2 separate regions of the Homo sapiens genome follow, and region 2 is linked to region 1. The links are contacts of gene promoters, found by promoter capture Hi-C in blood cells and fetal thymus (Javierre and others, 2016). All regions are on one chromosome and are shown on one strand. The core of a region is centred on a gene start or on the middle of the fragment in contact, and the rest is flanking DNA. Distances in the headings are between cores, read along the strand shown.

What was found. Contacts are between HindIII fragments. The CHiCAGO score rates a contact against its expected background, and 5 or more counts as called.
Region 2: a fragment that was not itself captured here is called in contact with the fragment with the promoter of WDFY3-AS1 in region 1 in 1 of 17 cell types (M2 macrophages); the score reaches 5.2 in M2 macrophages.

Annotation. Positions count from the first base shown.
Region 1 is chr4:84,794,267-84,799,114 of GRCh38, reverse strand. WDFY3-AS1 (WDFY3 antisense RNA 1) reads right to left here and starts at 2,450. Exons shown (of 3, transcript NR_046707.1): 1 at 2,361-2,450. WDFY3 (WD repeat and FYVE domain containing 3) reads left to right here. Exons shown (of 68, transcript NM_014991.6): 18 at 1,007-1,119; 19 at 2,363-2,594; 20 at 4,136-4,236; 21 at 4,378-4,596. The HindIII fragment of the contact is 11,821 bases long and covers 1-4,848 here.
Region 2 is chr4:84,716,026-84,720,873 of GRCh38, reverse strand. WDFY3 (WD repeat and FYVE domain containing 3) reads left to right here. Exons shown (of 68, transcript NM_014991.6): 48 at 2,304-2,452; 49 at 3,858-3,978. Among named protein-coding and RNA genes, the nearest start is that of WDFY3-AS1, 78 kb to the left of the region's middle. The HindIII fragment of the contact is 588 bases long and covers 1,591-2,178 here.

The DNA of each region.
Region 1 (4,848 bases), core at 1,201-3,700:
GTGAAAAAGTAAGGGCAAGATTTTTTTCCCCAACAAGAAAAACAAATATGGTGGTCCAGGGTAGAGAAGGAGTACAGCATTCTTAGGCAGTCAGAAGTTTTATGTATGTCTTAAGTAGAATTTATGATTGCGGGAAAGATGGGAGCAGTGAAGCTGGAGAGTACAGTAGAAATCATCTCATGTATGGTACTGAATGCTAGCTGTTTTGTGTTTTCAACTACAGAAATGGACAGCCATGGAAGAGTCTTAAGCAATAGAGTGACACTGTGTAGATTTAAGTTCTGTGAGATACTGACTATAGTGAGGAATGGATTGAGTTGGGGCAATATTGGTGTCACAGGAGGTAATTAAGACTCTGTTTTAGGAATAGTAAAATAATATGGTCTGGGTGATAGCAGCAAGAATGAGAGAAAAGAGCAGATTCCATATTTTTATGAGTAGAAATAGCAGGATTTTCTGATTTTCTGAATATGGAAAGTTAAAGAAGGAACAAAAACACATTTCAGTGAGATGCAGAACATAAGAAATGCCCTGGGTTTGGATATAAGGTGATGAGTTTGGTTTTAGAAATATTTGAGTTGGGGTTCTTCTTAAATATTATTAACTTCTAAAAAATGAATTTATAAAAATGTATAGCAGATATATAGCTATATGGTGATTAGATGTAAAACTAACACTGTGTATGTTTTACTATACTTGCATTTTTTGTATTGTAATTAGTCTGTTGGAATTTATTAAATTCCTTTTTTGAAAATGTTTGGTTTATGAATTATAATATTCTCAACGAAGGAATAACTGTCTAAAAAACATTCTAAAAAATATGTGTCAGATATATAGCTATATGGTGATTAAATGTAAAACTAACACTATATTGTTTTATTATACTTTGCATTTTTTTATTGTAATTAGTCTGTTGGAATTTATTAAATTCTTTTTCTGAATATTTGGTTAATGAATTATATAATAATCTCAATCAAGGAATAACTTTGCTTTGTCTCTTTCTTAGGGAGTTTTTACGTTTGGCAAGTCCTTTAAATTGTGGTGCCTGGGACAAAAAACTGCTAAAACAATATAGGGTCCACAAACCAAGTTCACTGAGTTATGAACCAGAAATGAGAAGTAAGTTTTGAAATTCCCTTTTTTGATTTATTTTATGAATGAAAATCATGTAGGGGATGAATATTATTTCAAGAAGTTTGTGAAAGCAAAGAAAGAGAAGGGTTTATTATTTAAATAGGGAAACAGGCCCGGCGCGGTGGCTCACGCCTGTAATCCCAGCACTTTGGGAGGCCGAGACGGGCGGATCACGAGGTCGGGAGTTCGAGACCATGGTGAAACCCCGTCTCTTCTAAAAAATACAAAAAAAATTAGCCGGGCGCAGTGGCAGGCGCCTGTAGTCCCAGCTACTCGGGAGGCTGAGGCAGGAGAATGGCGTGAACCCGGGAGGCAGAGCTTGCAGTGAGCCGAGATCGCGCCACTGCACTCCAGCCTGGGCGACAGAGCAAGACTCCGTCTCAAAAAATAAATAAATAAATAAATAAATAAATAAATAAATAAGAATTGAGTTGTGATTTCCTTTGCTAAGAGTAGAAACAAAAATAGTTCCTTTCCCTAAGAGAATATTTGAAATATCTTTGTAGTTGCCTGAATATCCAGCACATTTAGGAGGAAAACAGTTTCCTATACTCATGTAGTTTATTTCGAGAGAGAATATTTTCTTCATTACATTTGTAATGTGTCCCTGGAGAGATAATGACAATCTGTTTAGAATTTGTCTTTTTATTCTTGAAATTGTTACCCTTTTTATAAATATGGGAATCTTTAAATTAAAGTACTTTTACGATCATGCATTTAGTTCTAATAATTGTAAGGAAAGAATTAATAATGGGGAAAAAATGGGAGAAGCAAGTTTCTGCCATTTATCTCTAATTTGTTTTATAATAAAGATGACCTATTTCTTTTCATTTTAATGGTCTAAAATTGTTTACTTTTCCCTCAAAGAGAATTAATAAATCATAGTTTTATGAAATAAAAGTATTTCCTGATTTGTAAACTATTAACTGAGATTTATAATTAAATTACATTGTATCAGTGGCTTTGATGACAATTATTTGAGATGTTTATTTTTATTTATACTCTAGTTTCCAACATTTCTGCAGTGTGCATATTGCTTTAGTAAAAAAGGAAACGCATGCTATTAAGTTTAAAAGTAAATGTACATTAAAACTGGATAATGATCTTGGCACTTAAAAAAAAATTATTGTCTATTGAAACTGAAGTGGTATTTACAAATAAATCAGCCTTGTAAAGTTATTTTGAAATTCCATATGACATTTTCCCAAGAGATTTCCTTGACTTACAGGTAGTATGATCACATCTCTGGAAGGTCTGGGTACTGATAATGTTTTTAGCTTACATGAAGATAACCATTACCGGATAAGCAAGAGCCTGGTAAAATCTGCGGAAGGAAGTACTGTACCCCTGACCAGGGTGAAGTGTCTGGTCTCCATGACAACCCCACATGACATCAGACTTCATGGGTCATCAGTTACTCCAGCTTTTGTTGAATTTGACACATCACTTGAAGGGTTTGGGTAAGAAATTTGCAAGGAAGCCAACCTTTATGGTTTTATGCGTCATACTTGCCTTTACAAATAGATCTTTGGTTTTAAATATACTTAATTAAAATATATTTTACCATACTTAATATTTTTTAATTATTGAGTTTTTTGAGCATGCTATTTTAAGATTACTACATTTAATTATTTTTGTTTGTTATACAAAATAAATTGATATGACATAGGAATCCAAAATCTTAGGCCCATGGACCAAATCTGTTTTGTTAGTAACACTTTTGCAAATTTTTTTTTTTTTTGTAAATGAAGTTTTATTGGAAAACAGCCACACTCATTTATATTTCCTATGGCTGCTTTTGTGCTAGAGTGTCAGAGTTGAGTAGTCATGATGGAGACTGCCTGGTTCACAAAGCATTAAATATTTATGATTTGGCCCTTTCCAGAAAAAGTCTGCCAACATCTAATGTAATAAATATAAATGTATAGATAATATATAAATTAAAATTAGATTGAAAACTCTTTGGGTTTTATCATCATCTATCCTTCAAATTACCTAGTATAATAATTTATACATTATAAATATTCAATGACTGTCACTTCAAATGAATAAATTATTTCAAGTGGCAGAAAAGATTATAGTAACAGAAATGGCAATAATGAATCTAAAAAATCTATAAGAATTCATGAAGTTCAACAGCCTAAAATAGACACAAATGCTAATAGATCTGGTAGCTAGATCTGTTAGCTATTAGAGTTTTGTTTTTTTTTTTTCCTTTTGAGTCAGAGTCTTGCCCTGTCACCCAGGCTGGAGTGCAATGGCGCGATCTTGGCTCACTGCAACCTCCGCCTCTCAGGTTCAAGCATTTCTCCTGCCTCAGCCTCCCAAGTAGCTGGGATTATGGGCGCACGCCACCGCGCCTGGCTGATTTTTGTATTTTTAGTGGAGATGGGGTTTCGCCATAGTGGCCAGGCTGGTCTCGAACTCCCGACCTCAAGTGATCTGCCCACCTTAGCCTCCCAACGTGCTAGGATTATAGGCGTGAGCCACTGTGCCCAGGCTTAGAGTGTTAATTCATAATTTTTATCTATACTAGTTGTTTGTGGGATTCTTATATTGATTGAAACCTCTGTGTTTTAAGAATATTATCATGGGTCATTATCAAACAATAGATTAAAACATGATTGGGAATAGTCAAAAGCAATCAGTGGTAACAAGAGAGTGACAGTAAGGGGCACATGGGAGTTTTCCTTCAGTGATGAAATTGTTCTAATGTCTTGATTGGGTTTATACGTTAGAGTATGTTGCCATATGCATTTTGTATCTTCATTTTTTTTTATTTTAAGTTAAAAATGTTATTTTGGGAGATTTTAAAATTATGTCTTTTGATACCCTTACATAATTAAAAGAAGGGAAGGGCTTTGCGAGGCATCCAGATTTATTCCATGATCTTTTCTCTAGTCACCATTAAATACTGGCAGTTATTTCACTGTGGTAAGTGCACAGTGTTAAGAGAAGGAGTCATTGATCTCTAATATGTATGTTGTCTTTTCTTTAATAGATGTCTTTTTTTGCCCAGTTTGGCCCCTCATAATGCTCCTACAAATAATACCGTCACAACAGGTCTTATTGATGGGGCTGTGGTCAGTGGCATTGGTTCTGGTAAGTAATATTTGCTTTCTGCTTATGAGTTTTTTTTCTAGTAGATTATATATAATTTAGAGTTTATTTGCTTTTGTTGGCATCTTTTAAAAAATATAAATATTAATCAACACAGACTTTTTTTTTTAATTTTTACTGTAGGTGAAAGATTCTTCCCTCCTCCCTCCGGCTTAAGTTACTCTAGCTGGTTTTGTATTGAACATTTTAGTTCTCCTCCAAATAACCACCCTGTCAGACTTCTTACTGTTGTGCGCCGAGCAAATTCTTCTGAGCAACATTACGTGTGCCTTGCAATAGTTCTATCAGCAAAAGACCGATCTCTGATTGTTTCCACCAAAGAGGAACTCCTCCAAAATTATGGTCAGTATTTTTTTTTGTTTTCTTCTTTTGATTATAGAAGTATTAAAACTTCATTTTTGTATTTATTTTAAAAGTCCAGCTAATAATAACTTTTCAGCTTAAATTATTATAGCATAGAACAAGTTACATAAAACATTGAATATTGCTTACCAGTGAATTTTAAGGCACTTTCAAAAGAGACTTACAAAACAGTGGAGGGAGTGAGTACCTAATAAGGACTAATCTCTACTTGCCAAGAAATCACAGCTTTTC
Region 2 (4,848 bases), core at 635-3,134, 78 kb after region 1:
GGTACACCTTGGAGTTCATTACACCCACCATGTTGTGTTTTTTTTTCCACTCTGCACTTTACTCATTGTGGTTGTCCATGTTGCATTGCTATAAAGGAATACTTGAGGCTGGATAATTTATAAAGAAACAGGTTTGTTTGGCTCAACGCTTCTACAAGCTGTACAAGCATGGCACCAGCATCTGCTCGGCTTCTGATGAGGCCTTAGAAAGCTTTAACTCATGGCAAAAGATGAAGGGGGAATAGGCTTGTCACATAGTGAGAAAAGGAGCTCTTGTGTGAACTGATAGAGTAAGGACTCATTACCGCCAGGACAACACCAAGCCATTCATGAAGGGCCCACCCCCATGACCCAGACACCTCCCATAAGGCCGCACCTCCAACAATGGGGATCACATTTCAACATGAGATGTGGAGGGGACACATATGCAAACCGTGTCACTCATATTGTTTTTTTCTGCCAAAATGCCCCCTTCCTTTTACTTGCATAACCTTTATCCTAATAAATCCTGTGTGTTATAATCCCATTTATCTGGATGTTTGTAATATTCAAACATAGGAAGCTTTTTTTGACTCTTTTGCTACTCAGGCTTGGTTGCATACCCTTCCTCTATACTTTCATGATGCCTTATATATATCACTCTGTATTATCATGTCATAATTACTTGTTCCAGTATCTTTCTTTCTCGTCCTAGATGTCGAGCTCCTTATAGGCAAACTGTGTCTTATCTCTATCTCATTGCCTTACACAGGTCCAGTTGCATAATAGACAACCAGTAAACCTTTGAATGAAGGAATGATTGGTTTAATAAACAAGGGAATGAATGACTTGAATGTGTCATGAATATCACCTTTTTAAAGGATGTTCTTTTGCCTATTATATTAGATCTTGGTATAACCTTTGAGTTCTTACCCTCTAAGAAGTAGTCACTAGAAATTTGAGTATAATCAAAACAGTTCCGTTCAAATGTATGCCCTAATTAATATTGAATGACAATACATTAGAAAAGATCATGTAACTATAAAAGTACACCAGGTATGAAGGAAGCACAAGAGAGGCTTCTAGGAACTGGGGAGCATTCTGTTTCTTGGTCTGGATGCTGGTCACACAAAATTTTTAGCATTTGAAAATTCATCCAGCCATACACTTAGGAAATAAACATTTTGTGTGTGTGTGTATATGTATGTGTTTATATATAATATATGTATGTATGTATGTATATGCATAAAATATACTGCAATAGAGAAACTTTTAAAGTACATCAGGATTGATCAAATGTAGCAATGAAAATTGACTTATATTTAGATATTTTAGAAAACCTATTACAATGCTTTCATTTTTAAAACTTTTAATCTCATGAGTACAGTTTTTGCTCTGGTTGCTTTAATAGTGCAGGAAGTGTATTCAAACTGACATGTGTTTGACTCTGATTTAATTGCTGATTTTTGTCTTGACTCATGTTGAACTAAGTTTAAGCAAGAAAGAGTTTTTAGAAAGAATTAGATACTGCCCTTTGGGAGAAAACAATACTTACTTTGAGAGATTTAGCAATGCTCCTTCCTATGAGGAAAATACAACTTCTGCCAAGCTTGGCTTTTTGCAATAGTACAGTAGTCTCCAGGGAGCAGAATCCAGGTGGGGAATGAATAGAAACAAATTCTACAGTTCCATTTCCAGGGGGTATGATGGAAAAAGAAGGTAAACTGTGTGGAACAGAAAGCAACCAATAATTCCTAACCTGATTATGTACATTATCTCACTTATTTTTCACAACAAGCCAATTAGAAACTTACAAAAAAAGACATGGAGGCTCAGAGAAATTAAGAAACTTGACCCAGTCTACAAAGTGGCAGAACTGGAAATTTACCCTGAGTTAGCAGGCCCTGCAATTTTCACTCTGTATCATCTTGCCTCACATAGAACACAATCCTATTCTAATCTCCTTACATGTATGCCTCAATTCCCTTTCCTGCCAAGTTTGCTGTGTCTGTCTCCCTTCATGAGAGCAGGAGCCTTATCTAATGTTCTTGACTTTTAGAAGCTAGCGCATGTTTGCCTGGCCTACATAAAGTACACCCGGAATATTGAGAGAGATGGGATTGGCAGATGAGTGGATGGGTATGAGTGAATTGTTTAGTTTTACTCTAGTCAGATGTAAATCAGACTGTAATCTAAGCTTAATCTTCTCAATATGCTTAAACTCTGATTTAATATGCTTAGCTCTAGGGATGCCGTAGTAGTCTAACAAAAATTGATCTTTACAAAAAGCCTATATTAATGAATGTTTGTGGGCTTCTTTATAGATCCAACACATGTACCGCTGTGCTCGAGTCCAGGGCCTAGATACCAGTGAGGGGCTCCTTCTTTTTGGTAAAGAGCATTTTTATGTGATTGATGGATTTACCATGACAGCAACCAGGGAAATAAGAGATATTGAAACCTTACCTCCAAAGTAAGTAAATGAATGAAGAGACATAATGTATGGCTATCTTTAGAAGACAGAAAATGTATTTGCAGTTTTCTTTTTTAATCAAAAAATTGTGTTCTAGGTAATGTTATCTCTCGGTTTGTGTGCATTCATCATTACATATTCACAAAGATGATATTCAGTTATTTTAAGGTAATAATGAAAATGTTTGGCTTATTTATCAAGATGAAAGCTAAATAACATTTATTTCTGTGCATTCTGAGTTATTTATATTATAATGTATATATTTACAAATTTATTCTGAATTTATAAATGGTCCTTTTAAAAAATATAGCAGATATACAATTGTAGAGAAAATACTCTTTTTTTTTTTTTTTTTTTTTTTTTTGAGACAGTGTCTCACTCTGTCACCCCGGCTGGAGTGCAGTGAGTGGCAGTGGCGCAATCTCGGCTCACTGCAAGCTCCGCCTCCCGGGTTCATGCCATTCTCCTGCCTCAGCCTCCCGAGTAGCTGGGACTACAGGCGCCCGCCACCACGCCAGGCTAATTTTTTGTATTTTTAGTAGAGACAGAGTTTCACCATGTTAGCCAGGATGGTCTCAATCTCCTGACCTTGTGATCCGCCCGCCTCGGCCTCCCAAAGTGTTGGGATTACAGGCGTGAAGAATACTCTTAAAAATGAAAGAGCATCATCAGGTACTCGGAGCACCCTAGAAACAGCATGACTAAAGCATTAGCAGAGATTTACTGACTGAGTTGTAGGCATCTTCCTTTTCTTCTACCAGTCCTGTGATGAAAGTGGTAGTGAGTAGTGGAAAACTCAGGAGACAGACCAACCTAGAAGAAAGTTAAGAAGCTTAGGGCTTAGAAGATCAACAGGCTGCTTCTCTTCCTTTAACATTTTCCTAGCACCCTTGAACACAGACATTGTTTCTGTAGTTCATTCCTAGGAGATATTTCAAATAATTACTGTCAACAACAATCAGGGTCACATGAAGTCTTTCGTGGGTCCTTTTTCCATACAAAAATATTTAAAATTGTATGTTGTGGCTAATGGTATAAATATAATCTTATATTAAAATGTGTTTTTCTACCTAAAAGTTGATTTTTTTTCTGATTTTTAAAAGAAATTAAGACATTTTCTTGGGCCCCAAAATATGTGAGCTGAGGCACTGTGCTAACCATGTCTGGTAGATAACTTGGTCCTGACAGTAATAAGGGGATTTTTAAAATTATATTCATCAAAGGGGGTTCCTTGTATCTCAGGTAGCTAACAAATTCTTCTTGTAAATATATTTTTTAACTGAAAATTCTGATATATATTACTCCTCCATCCTGTTCATGTGTTTAAAATTAGCACGCCCTTTATGGAACAGTGAATTTATCCCTTGCTGTGTTTTTATTTGCTTTTTCTCTTGGCTGCCTGTAGTATGCATGAGCCTATTATTCCTAGAGGAGCCAGGCAAGGCCCTAGTCAACTCAAGAGAACATGCAGCATTTTTGCATATGAAGATATCAAGGAAGTTCATAAAAGGAGATATCTCCTGCAGGTGAGTCAATTTAGTAGTACTGTTTTATCATGTTTCTTTATTCTGAAAATGTATTGTTTTATTTTATTTTATTTTTTATTTTTTATTTTTATTTTTTGAGACAGAGTCTCACTCTGTCGCCCAGGCTGGAGTGCAGTGGCATGATCTCAGCTCACTGCAACCTCCGCCTCCCGGGTTCACACCATTCTCCTGCCTTAGCCTCCCAAGTAGCTGGGACTATAGGCGCCCGCCACCACGCCAGGCTAATTTTTTTGTATTTTTTTAGTAGAGACGGGGTTTCCTTGTGTCAGCCAGGATGGTCTCGATCTCCTGACCTCATGATCCGCCCGCCTTGGCCTCCCAAAGTGCTGGGATTACAGGCGTGAGCCACCGCGCCCGGCCGAAAATGTATTATTTTAAAATTGATACATGCCATGGAAACCCTCAATAGGATCTGCATTTTTTTTTTTTTTTTTTTGAGATGGAGTCTTGCTCTGTCACCCAGGCTAGAGTGCAGTGGCACGATCTAGGCTCACTGCATGCTCCACCTCCCTGGTTCACACCATTCTCCTGCCTCAGCCTCCTGCATAGCTGGGACTAGAGGCGCCTGCCACCACGCCCAGCTAATTTTTTTCTGTTTTTTAGTAGAGACGGGGTTTCACCATGTTAGCCAGGATGGTCTTGATCTCCTGACCTCGTGATCCGCCTGCCTCGGCCTCCCAAAGTGCTGGGATTACAGGCGTGAGCCACCGTGGCTGGCCAGGATCTGCATTTAGAATAATCCTTAGATATGGTTATAGACAGACTCAGGTCATGTGGATGCATAATTTTGTATAATGCATTTCTCTTGTTTAAACACAGCCTAAAATTTGGGTAATTATCTTTGTTATC